4 separate regions of the Homo sapiens genome follow, and regions 1, 2 and 3 are each linked to region 4. The links are contacts of gene promoters, found by promoter capture Hi-C in human tissues and cell types (Jung and others, 2019). All regions are on one chromosome and are shown on one strand. The core of a region is centred on a gene start or on the middle of the fragment in contact, and the rest is flanking DNA. Distances in the headings are between cores, read along the strand shown. Region 1 overlaps SRGAP3 (SLIT-ROBO Rho GTPase activating protein 3). Region 2 overlaps RAD18 (RAD18 E3 ubiquitin protein ligase). Region 3 overlaps RAD18 (RAD18 E3 ubiquitin protein ligase). Region 4 holds the start of OXTR (oxytocin receptor).

Evidence for each region. The method cuts DNA at HindIII sites, captures the fragments that hold promoters and counts their contacts. A contact is called where the count stands out against the background at its distance.
Region 1: a contact is called between a fragment that was not itself captured here and the fragment with the promoter of OXTR in region 4, in 1 of the 25 tissues and cell types used here (mesenchymal stem cells).
Region 2: a contact is called between a fragment that was not itself captured here and the fragment with the promoter of OXTR in region 4, in 1 of the 25 tissues and cell types used here (thymus).
Region 3: a fragment that was not itself captured here is called in contact with the fragment with the promoter of OXTR in region 4 in 2 of the 25 tissues and cell types used here (IMR-90 fibroblasts and mesenchymal stem cells).

Annotation. Positions count from the first base shown.
Region 1 is chr3:8,978,783-8,981,493 of GRCh38, reverse strand. SRGAP3 (SLIT-ROBO Rho GTPase activating protein 3) reads left to right here. Exons shown (of 22, transcript NM_014850.4): 22 at 1-903. Among named protein-coding and RNA genes, the nearest start is that of RAD18, 17 kb to the right of the region's middle. The HindIII fragment of the contact is 6,143 bases long and covers 1-2,711 here.
Region 2 is chr3:8,958,899-8,961,598 of GRCh38, reverse strand. It overlaps RAD18 (RAD18 E3 ubiquitin protein ligase), which reads left to right. Exons shown (of 13, transcript NM_020165.4): 2 at 2,598-2,679. Among named protein-coding and RNA genes, the nearest start is that of RAD18, 3.2 kb to the left of the region's middle. The HindIII fragment of the contact is 4,574 bases long and covers 1-2,700 here.
Region 3 is chr3:8,911,408-8,914,107 of GRCh38, reverse strand. It overlaps RAD18 (RAD18 E3 ubiquitin protein ligase), which reads left to right. Exons shown (of 13, transcript NM_020165.4): 8 at 388-464; 9 at 1,736-1,796. Among named protein-coding and RNA genes, the nearest start is that of RAD18, 51 kb to the left of the region's middle. The HindIII fragment of the contact is 9,414 bases long and covers 1-2,700 here.
Region 4 is chr3:8,768,363-8,771,062 of GRCh38, reverse strand. It overlaps OXTR (oxytocin receptor), which reads left to right and starts at 1,450. Exons shown (of 4, transcript NM_000916.4): 1 at 1,450-1,832; 2 at 2,472-2,567. RefSeq lists enhancers at 1,286-1,335, 1,983-2,654. The HindIII fragment of the contact is 11,538 bases long and covers 1-2,700 here.

The DNA of each region.
Region 1 (2,711 bases), core at 168-2,667, 210 kb before region 4:
GGTAATGGTTCTTCCTCTCAGTCTTTCTATTCCTAACTTTTCACACATCCAGATGGTTCCACACTAGTGCAAATGCCTCACTCTCCTGAGAAACCCAGAAAGAAGAGTGGCTGGCTCACAACCATGGGGTTAGCCCCTGCTGGGCTGGGAGTCGGGGTGGCGGCCAGGAGGAAAGGCAGAAAGGGGTGAGCCGAGGTGTTGCCTAGCTGATTTTCTGCTGTGCAGAGCTAATGCTGACATTTCATGTCAACTTCCCCGGTTCTCTGGGGTCTCCTCTCCTCTGAGCAGCCACATAGAACATTCCCCACATATCCAAAGCTGCCCAGGGGAGCCGAGAGAAGGGACTTTGCTGTCAGGTCCAAGCCCTCCTGACCTCCCTGAGATTGATCTGCCAGTGTCCTGCTGTCCCTCTGGGACTGGCCACATGGCCATCGCTGCCCCTTGTTGACACCTCCTTTCTGTGTGAGTTGTCCCCGGCCAATAACAAAGCTGTTCCTTGAACCAGAACAACCAGAGTGCACTTTTCCTTCCTTAGACGGAAGTAGATCCTGGCTAGGGTTTCTGCCCAGGCCCTTGTTCCCGGCAGTGTGACTGTTTACATGGTTTGGCAATAGGTTTGATTCTGATTGCTTCAGAGTGGCTGGTCTATTTTGTTTCCTTTGGTTTCCTTCCTCCCCAAATTGTGACAGGAAAAACAGACCAAAACCACCCTAGGAAATTGCTGGTTGCCTGTCCCCACGTGATGATAAATGTTGCCCTCTTCTGGATATCGTTTCTCTACCTTACGACCAAACGCCCGTCCTATAGAGTGTCTGATTGGATCCTCTGTCGCGTATTCTGATGGTGCCTGCTGGTTTGACGTGGAGCTATCCTGTGAAATAAAACAGCTTAACTTTTCTCAAACATGCTCCAGTGGTTTTTGAAAGGGCGAGGTGGCACATCAGGGGTGGAGAGGTCCTGGGGGGAGTCCCCATCCTCCAGTCCACACTGTCTGCCTGCTTCCCCCAGGAAACACCTTTGAAATGTCCATTAGCTCAGATCCAACAAGATGAAGGTAAGGTTACAAGGAGGACCACTTCCATTGTAGAGCTAACTGAAGAAGGTAACTAACTGTAGGATGACTGCTGGGGAAAGAGGGTTTGGAAATGTCAAAGCAAAGGCAAGTTGGGAGTAGTAGCTGTCATCTGCAGAAAGTGTCTTCAAAAGTTTAAGATAAATTATCAGAGGCCACTGGGTACTGATACATCAAGGCACATGCAACATTTTGATGTTCATTGTCTACAAACGTCATATAACCTCTTGGACTTTTGTTTTTACCTGTGTGTGTTTGTGAACTGTTTATTGACCACTTATTTCTGTCCCAGCCACTAGATTAAACCCTTTACCTGTATTTTCTCATTTAATTCTCAATACACCATTGAAGGTAAGTATCATTATTATACTCTGTCCTGCAGATGAGGAAACTGAGGCTCTGAGAGGCTAAACAGCTTGCCCAAGGTTAGGCTAGGAAGTAGAGAAGCCAGAATTTGAATTCAGTCCGCCTAACTCCAAACCCATGCTCTTTATAAGTTTGTCATACTGCCTCTGATTTGAGCATTGTACTCATTACAGCAGGATTAGGGGCAGGATTTCATGATGAAGGTAGCTTGCTGCTTGCTGCAGTCAAGAAATACTCCAGGGCCTTTATATCCCACCAAGACTTTGTATCAGGGAAGAATACAAGTTGCCCAAAGGAGATTGTGGGGCTGCCCATGAAAAATAATAAATGGTGATGATTTTCAGTCTCTCTTTCTGATTAAACCTCTGCTGGATCTTCATGGAAGGGCCTCCTTGCAGCCTCAGTGACTCATTCCCACCAAAAATGCTCATCACTCAATGATGGTCTCTTGCGAATTCCAGACTCCTCTGCTATGAAAATGTCTTAGTCTATTTTCTGTTGCTGTAACAGAATAGAACAGACTGGGTAATTCATAAAGAAAAACAGCTTATTTGGCTCATGGTTCTGGAGGCTGGAAAGTCCAAGAACATGACACTAGCATCTGGCTAGGGCCATCTCATGGTGGAAGGCAGAAGGGCAAAAGAGACAGTGTGAGGGGCAGACTCTTTTATAACCTTCTGTCATGATAACAATCCCATGCCCATGGCAATGACATTAATTGATTCATGAGGGTGGAGCCCTCATGAACCAGTCACCTCTTATTAGGTGCCCTCTCCCAAGATTATTGCATTGGGTATTAAGTTTCCAACACATAAATTTGGGGGACACATTCAAACTACTAACCTTCTAAGAGGCTAAACTTTGTATGTGTTCCATAATCTGTTTACTTGCTCATAGCAACAGTACACATTTGAAAGCTTCAAATCAGGAGCCTCTCATTCATTCAACAAGCGTGTATGAAGCACCTTAGCACCTTTTTATGCAACTTGCCTCAAGTTAGCTGCTGGGGACACAGAATGATGAGCCCCAGTTCCTTTCCTCAAGTTGCATACAGTCTAATTGCACAAAATGATCACTCTAGAATTCTAAGATCGACTTTTACTCAATGATAAATAGAACAGTGTCTCTAACCCACAGAGGCACAAAGGGCAGATTTTAGCAACTTGACTATTTTGTCAGCCACAAAGCATAGACCATTGCTGGATTGTCCATTGCACATCTGTTTAGGAATTTTTTGTTTGCAAACGACAAACTATTCAACCCAAACAGCCCT
Region 2 (2,700 bases), core at 159-2,658, 190 kb before region 4:
CAAAGAACTATCAGATCCCAGAAGCAGATCTGACTGAAGTTACTTCTTTTATTGAATAGAAGTCTGACTCAGAATCCATGGTTGCTAACTTAGGATTCACAGAAAGACTTTGGAGTCTCAAGTTATTTGTAAAATTTTTGCATGTATGTTTTTCTGAGCAGAGAGTCCATAGTTGTCATCCATTTTTCAAAGGGATCTGTAACCCCAAAAACTTAAGAGTATTTTTGTAATTATTACGTTTTTCCACCCATTTTCTACTTCTCCCTTTCACTTTCTCTCTCTCTAAACTAAAGAAATTTTGGGGAGTCTGCTGACCACTCTCTATTCAGGCATCATTTTTTGTTTAGTTGGTTGAGGCGCATGTGATATGCATGTTACTGTCTTGGAGTGACATGACAAGAAATTTGAACCAGAAATGGCTCATCTGATGTAGTGTCAACTTCCACAATTGTGCTCTGCAGATCTTTCAGAATCATTCCTCCACCAGAAGAGGATGGCATAGATAAGAAAGTGTGATATAATAGACTGGTTCTGGCTTCTGGGCCTGCCTCTGCTCTTAATTGATCTTGAACATAACCCTTTAGATTTTTGTGTCTGTGACAGCTTACCATCCACAATAATGGAAGATTTTGGCATTTTATTATTTCCCTGGTTTTACTTTAACAAAAATTTACTGTTTTTGGCATATTGTAAATGTAATATGTGTACACGGTAGAAAAAAATTAAAATTCAGAATAAGATAAAGGAGAAAAATAAAACCATCCATAATTCTACCACCCAGAGAACCAGTGTTTAACATTTTACCTTATTTTCCTTTGGTTTTTGTGCATTTAAAATTTGGGATCACTGTGGAGTCAACTTCTTGGGTTTGATCCAGCCAACTTAGGAACTCTGTAGACTTTATTTTTAAAATTGGGATACTGATGCTGTGGACTTCATAAGATTGCTATGAAGATTAAACTACAGAGTTGTTATTATTATGTATTATTGGCATAGGTTTGTTTTCTGATTTTTATTTTCCTAGGGCATTAATTATTCTTTGAAAGCATGTTTTTTAATGGCTGCATAATATTTCATCATATGGACCATTAGCGACATTAGTCCTTTTTTGTTTACATTTTTAAAATTCAGGTAATAGGTTCACATGGTTCAAAATACACATAAAATAAAAAGTAAAAGTCTCCTTCTTACCATGTTCCTGGCCCTGATCATTATTTATGACTTCTTGTTTATCTTCTCATTATTTACATTTACAATGAAAATAGAATGCATTCTTTTTTCCTTTTTTTCTTTTTTGAGATAGGGTCTCACTGTCGCCCAGACTGGAATGCAGTGGCAATCACGGCTCACTGCAGCCTTGAACTCCTGGGCTAAAGCAATCCTTCCGCCTCAGCCTCCTGAGTAGCTGGGACTACAGGCATGCGCCACTACTCCCAACGAATTTTTAAATTTTTTATAGACATGGATTTTTGTTATTTTGCCAGGCTGGTCTCAAACTCCTGGACTCAAGCAGTTCTCCTGCCTTGGCCTCCCAAAGTGCTAGGATTACAGAGCCACCATGCTAGGCCTATTAGAATACATTCTTACTCACCTCTTCCTTTTAAACAAACCGTAGCATAGTATATGTACTGTCTATACCTTATTTCCTTTTTTCACTTATCTTGGCAATCTTTTCATATCAGTATGATGGAGAGCTTCCTCTTTTTTTTTTTTTTTTTTGAGACAGTTTCACTCGGTCATGCAGGCTGGAGTATAGTGGTGCGATGTGGGCTCACTGCAACCTACGCCTCCTGGACTCAAGCGATCCTCCCGTCGAGAGCTTCCTCCTTTTAAAAAATATTTCTGTTGAATGGAATAATATTTTATTTTAAACAATTTGAAAGATTTTAGGTTGCCAGAGTAGTTCCGTTCCTGTTTGGATTGCATTCCAGGTTGGCACACATCTCTCTTTCCAAGTTGTCCACTTTCCCTTCCTCTGCTTTCACTGCCCCAGCTCTTTCCAGGCTTCCTCATTTGGCTGCATGTGTAGTACCATGCCGAAAGCACTGGACTGCCAGACGGGAGACAGGAATTTTGGTCTTGGCTTGACTGATGCCTACTATTGTGTGCCTGCTTTTGATACCAGTTTCCTCTTTTGACTAGACAGTTTCTGGAGTTTGGCTTTAACATTCTTTGATTTGATTCTTAACTTGTGTGGTGGCAATGGCCACCTTTCACCCAATAGTGACTATAGGCTAGGTGTTGGAGTCTGAAGAGGAGGAGGCTTGGAGTAAGAGCTGGAAGCGCATTAGAAGTGGAACAGAAGTACAGTAGCCCTTATGTGAAGGGATGACAATATGGCACAAGAATCGGTGTGCCATCATCTTTAGCTGTCTAAAGCAATTTGGGCAACCTGAGACTGAATGTATAAGAGTCATATGAGAGAAGTTTTTATTTATTTGTCAAGATCCCTTGCAGTTTATCTGGAGTTAGCTTTTGAATTTGTGTATTTGACAAAGAGTTTGATTTTTTTTTTAGGGGATAGAGAAAAAGTTTTGTGACAGGACTTCCAATTTTGATGTCTTTCTGATATGTATATATGCATATTTGCATTTCAGACAATAGATGATTTGCTGCGGTGTGGAATTTGCTTCGAGTATTTCAACATTGCAATGATAATACCTCAGTGTTCACATAACTGTAAGTATGTTTTGTTCCTGT
Region 3 (2,700 bases), core at 93-2,592, 140 kb before region 4:
GCCTGTTGTACTGCATTTAGTACATTGGAATTTGAGCAGACATCCCCTAATAATTGAACTCACACTAAAAAATTAATTTTCATATTTCACTGAGACTTCTGTTTAGACCTGTATATTCAAAGGAGAAAGCAAAATGACTTGACTCTTGTGGTTATACGTTGAACAGCATGTGCATGTGTAAGAGTTCAGTGTTTTAACTCCATGTTATTTTTTTAACCTTTTGTTTTGAAATGGTAATTGATTCACAGAAAAATTGTAAAAATAGATCAGGGAGTTCACATATACCCATCACCCATCTTCTTCTAATGTTAACAACTTAAATAATTATTGTACAGTGATTAAAAAAGACATGTGATTAACCTAGTGGTTATTTTCTTATTTTAACAGCTGCTGAAATAGTTCGAGAAATCGAAAATATAGAGAAGACTAGGATGCGTCTTGAAGCTAGTAAACTCAATGAAAGTGTATGTTAATGGGCTATTTCAGTATATGGATAGAAATGAAGAAAGTTTAATACCCTACAAAAATTAAAGCAAGCCATTATTAAATTTATTCATTTACTAACACATTTCCACTTAGTGTATTATGATTTACTTGCAACTCATTTTAGGACAATATTTGATTGTACTTAGCAGTCTTCTAGCACAAAATGCAATCCAAAGTAGAGTTTGTTCATGAGCTAGAGTTCTATAGAAAATGCCTGTGCCTGTGCATCAGGCAGCTTTGATATTGGTCCTTTCTCTGCTGGTTGTGTTTGATAAGCTACCTCTAAGGACCTCTAAGCTACTGCTAGGGACCTCTATGATCCCTTTTTAGCTCTGGCATTCTGCAATTCTATGATTATACTTATGGAAATGTTAAGTAATTATAAGAGGATAAATTAAGTAATTTGAGGATGGAATATTCTCTTGAGCTTTGGAGGGAATCAGAGACCTAAAATTCTTCACTGTTGCCTTCCACTAGCTTGATGCCCCAAACTTGAAGACAGGATACCAGTGAAGAAAATAGTCATTGTGTCCTGTGACACTGGAGAAAGTGTTTTGGTCTCTTCCAAGTAGACTTTTTTTTTTTCTAGGCCATTTGTAGTGTGTTTGTAAGGAGAAAGCAATGGTTACCTTAAGAAAGTAAGTTTGTAACCAAATAAGTAGGAAAAAAATGGGATTTACATTGACCCTATTATTACCTGTGTGCTAACTGTAAGATGGGAACTGCAGTGAATCATGGAAGCAGATTTCTGATCTTTTAAGTCTGAGGTTTAAAAAGTGGACCTAGAGGCTTAACTTACTGTGTTTTGTATTATTGCATTTTCTATACATACTGCTTTTCTATAATGACCTGGAGAAGTTAGATTGGAAAGGAGAGAAGGCAGACAAGAAGATCAGCCTTACTAATAGTCAGCTAAGTGTCGTTAGTCTTCTGGTTTCAAATATTGCCTGTTGTATTAATGAATGTGGGATATTAAATATTGAAAATAGAAAATTTATTATTTTGTTAATATATAATTGAATCATGTTGCATTTTCTACTGATGAGAAAAAATAATGAGTAAAATGTATACCATTTCTGGTATTTAAGGGAAGTACATAGGAATGATTCTTCCTAGGTCTATATAAAACAGATGAGAGATCATTTTCCTCTATTTTAAACACTCACATTTGAGATTTGAAGGTTTGTAATATTTCCCTTTTTGTCATTTTGGGGAGATTTTTATTAAGGTCTTTTTTTGATTATTTTAGGTAATGGTTTTTACAAAGGACCAAACAGAAAAGGAAATAGATGAAATCCACAGTAAATATCGTAAGTTGCACGACTTTATTTAATTTGTAAAGAGCTTCAGTTGCTGTTTTTCATCTTAAGTAATTTTTCAGAATAATGTTTTATATTAAGGTTCAATTCAAACTTTTGTTAACATTACTTAAGAGATTGAATTTTAATTGGGTGTTTACTTAGTGACTTTTTTTGTATTTTATATGCCTGCTTTTTGATTTTTATGACTAGCATTCTACTTTGAGCTTATCACTAAGCACTTTGCAAATATTAATTAGCTGCTCTCAAAGCATTTCTGTGAAAAGAAGCTGGGATTAAAATGGAAACATTCGGGACTCTATCCTGTCCTCAGGCCACTCAGTAACAATACTTCTGTATAGGATTTCAATGCTTCTATAGCTTGCAAATTTGTGCCAAAAATAGTTTTCATTTTATTGCTTGTTAGCAACCTCCCAACTTTATCACTTCCTTTTCCTTAAATGGTCTTCGTGTATATCTTTCCCAGGGCTAACACATTACTGTTTTGTCAGATAGCTGTTACTCTTTGTGTGGTGGTTGGATTTTAGTTTAAATTTAAGTGCCTGACGAACAGTAGATAGTTAATAGATGTTCATTGAATCAGTATTCCCAGGCATGGTATGTTTTAATTGAGGTAAGATAATTTTTTTCTCTCTTCATTTCTTAAACTCTGAAGGGCCAGGTTCTGTAGTGATGTATTGTGGGAGGGAGGATGAAGCACACCTGCGCTGGATGTAGGTGTGATTGCCTGTGCCTTGCTAGAGTAGGAAAAGGACCCTAGAGGAGTCTTGGATTATGGACTGAACAACAAAAGTCACCATTGTTCTGTTGCTGGACAGATAAGTATGATGTGAACCTCTTTGATCAACTTGTAGGATGTCAGAGTGATTTTTCTTTAGAAAGGAGAACAAAAGAG
Region 4 (2,700 bases), core at 201-2,700:
ATGGGGATCACACTATTACTGTTGTTGTTATTGTTGTTGTTTAGATTAAAACTAAGTTAGAGAATTTACCTTTTGCATGAGACTAAATAGCCCTGTTAGGTGAATCCAGAATTAGGCTGTCTCACGGGCTACGCGAGGACCACACAGGTAGGCAGGCTTCCCTACAAAGGGTAGAAGAGTCTGTCCTTGGTGAAGTGGCTCAGTAAACTTGCTCCCTAGAAAGCAGCTGTCTTCCAGGAGAAAGAAGGGCAGGCTTGGTTCTACAGGCCAGTGTTTTCCTTCTCACATTCACCGGTCAGGGGCTCATAGGGAAAAATCTGCCTTCATCCAGCCGTGGAGTGAGGCAGGGGTGTTTTACCTGCTAGGATTGAACCCTCAGATTGCACAGATTATACAGTTTCAGAAAACCAGAGGGACAGGACCTCAGACATTAGCTATCTTGACCAGTGCTCTCATTTTACATATGAGGAGACTGAGGCCCAAAGAGAAGGGGCTTGCCCAAGGTCACTTCATTCTCACCTGAGTCGTCTGTAACTTTAATCTGTAATTTTCGAGGCCGATAGGTACTATTGACTAATATTGATTAATACTGCCTGCCACCCCTTGGCAATGCTGTCAAGATTCCCAGCCCCATTCTGGAATGATTACTCAGCTAGAACCCTGGGATCCAGGTGCTGTAAGGTTGGCCCCTGGGATATCTCGGCATGGGGCTGTAATTGTGGATTAAGGAAACCCAGTCCTTGGCTAACTCAAGTCTCTCCACATAATAAAAAGACGGAGAAGTGAAATGTCAGGAGGAAATACACATTTAATGCATTTTAAAGAGCCCTGTTTATTTTTGAATCCTGGCCTTTTTTTCTGACTTAATTCTTGGCCACTGTAAATTACTTCAAAAAATGATTTTAGAATAGAGAAGGGGCAGGGAGGCTGAGAAGCTGTCTTTAACATTTTATCTTCCTTTGGCATCATTTAGAATTTTAATTCCGAAGCGCGACAAGGAGGCAGAAACGGCTCTTGGGCGCAGACAAGCAGAATCACTTTAAATGAAGACAGTGTTGTGCTTCAGAATTTCCTCTAAAACTACCGAAAAAATAACGCCTCTCCCAGCACTGCTTAGAATAGAGGCCATTTCTAATTCCTCATTAACGGGAATAGGAACAAAAGTATTCCAAAGCAAAGACTTATTTGAGTTCACTGCTAAAGCCGCTACATCAAGCTGGAGGTGTGGGGGGAGAGAAAAGCCTGAAAATTAACATCATTTTTGGGAAATAATCAGTTTAAATGCTTTTGTAACTTCATCACTATCTACCCGGGGAAGAACATTATTATTCAAGCCTCCTATGTGTCTCGGAGTCAAGAGCTTCTAAACCAAGAAAGGAAGAAACGGGCGGGTTATTGACGAGTTCCCTCCCTCTCGCAGTTTTAAACCACTGCAAAATAAACCCATTTGTTAAGGCTCTGGGACCAACGCTGGGCGAACCAGCTCCGCTCCGGAGGGGTCTGCGCGGCTGGCCTCGCCCGCCCCCTAGCGGACCCGTGCGATAGTGCAGCCTCAGCCCCAGCGCACAGCGCCGCATCCAGACGCTGTCCGCGCGCGCAGCCTGGGAGGCGCTCCTCGCTCGCCTCCTGTACCCATCCAGCGACCAGCCAGGCTGCGGCGAGGGGATTCCAACCGAGGCTCCAGTGAGAGACCTCAGCTTAGCATCACATTAGGTGCAGCCGGCAGGCCATCCCAACTCGGGCCGGGAGCGCACGCGTCACTGGGGCCGTCAGTCGCCGTGCAACTTCCCCGGGGGGAGTCAACTTTAGGTTCGCCTGCGGACTCGGTGCAGGTAGCTGGGTGCTAAGCAGGGGTGGACGGGATGGCTAGGGCCGGTGGAGCCATCGGGACCCGAGTGGAGGTGGTGGGGTGCCTCGCACTCCTTGTTCCTGGAGGAGCTCGGGGTGTTCCGAGAGATTGTAAAGTGACTTCTCGGGATTGAGACTCAGAGTCCTTGATTATCTGGGTCCAAAGCGCAAGTCAGGGGTTCCAGAACTTTCGAGGCTGCCGGGCTGGGGAGGAGCCCCGCGGGAGGTGTCTATGCCAGGGTCTGGGAACAGCGCTTGGGCATCTTGGGCTTTGAGGCAGGGGTTCCCCCAGCAGGGACTGCAGAACCGGGTTTCCACCGAAGCAGGTGCTGTGGAAGTTCAGGGAGTGACGGCCGACCGTCTTAGAAAAGGGGGTTAGACGGGGAAGGACCAGAGCTGGGGTTTCCCAGGCAAGTGGCTATTTGGGGATTTCCGGAGGAAGTACTTGAATTAATGTTTACTAGGAGAGGGGCTGGTTTGGGGGTCCCGCGGCAGGTGGATATGCTGAGGGTCGGAGCCTGGGGCGAGTAGGTAGTTTGGAGATTCCCTCGGGGAGGTGATTTGGTTTTAGATTCCCACTCCCGGAGGAACGTTGCTGATTTTGACCCTCCCTTCTCCCCCAGTGGAAGCCGCTGAACATCCCGAGGAACTGGCACGCTGGGGGCTCTGGGCTTGTGGCCGGTAGAGGATTCCCGCTCATTTGCAGTGGCTCAGAGGAGGTACCTCCAACGGGGATTTCTGGGGTGGCGGCTGAGCAACCCGAGGCCGGCGGTTGTGCCCTGTTGTTTCAGATGAGTTGGGTTCCTGGGAATGGGACAAGCACGCCCTACCCGCGTCGGAAGAGAAACGCGG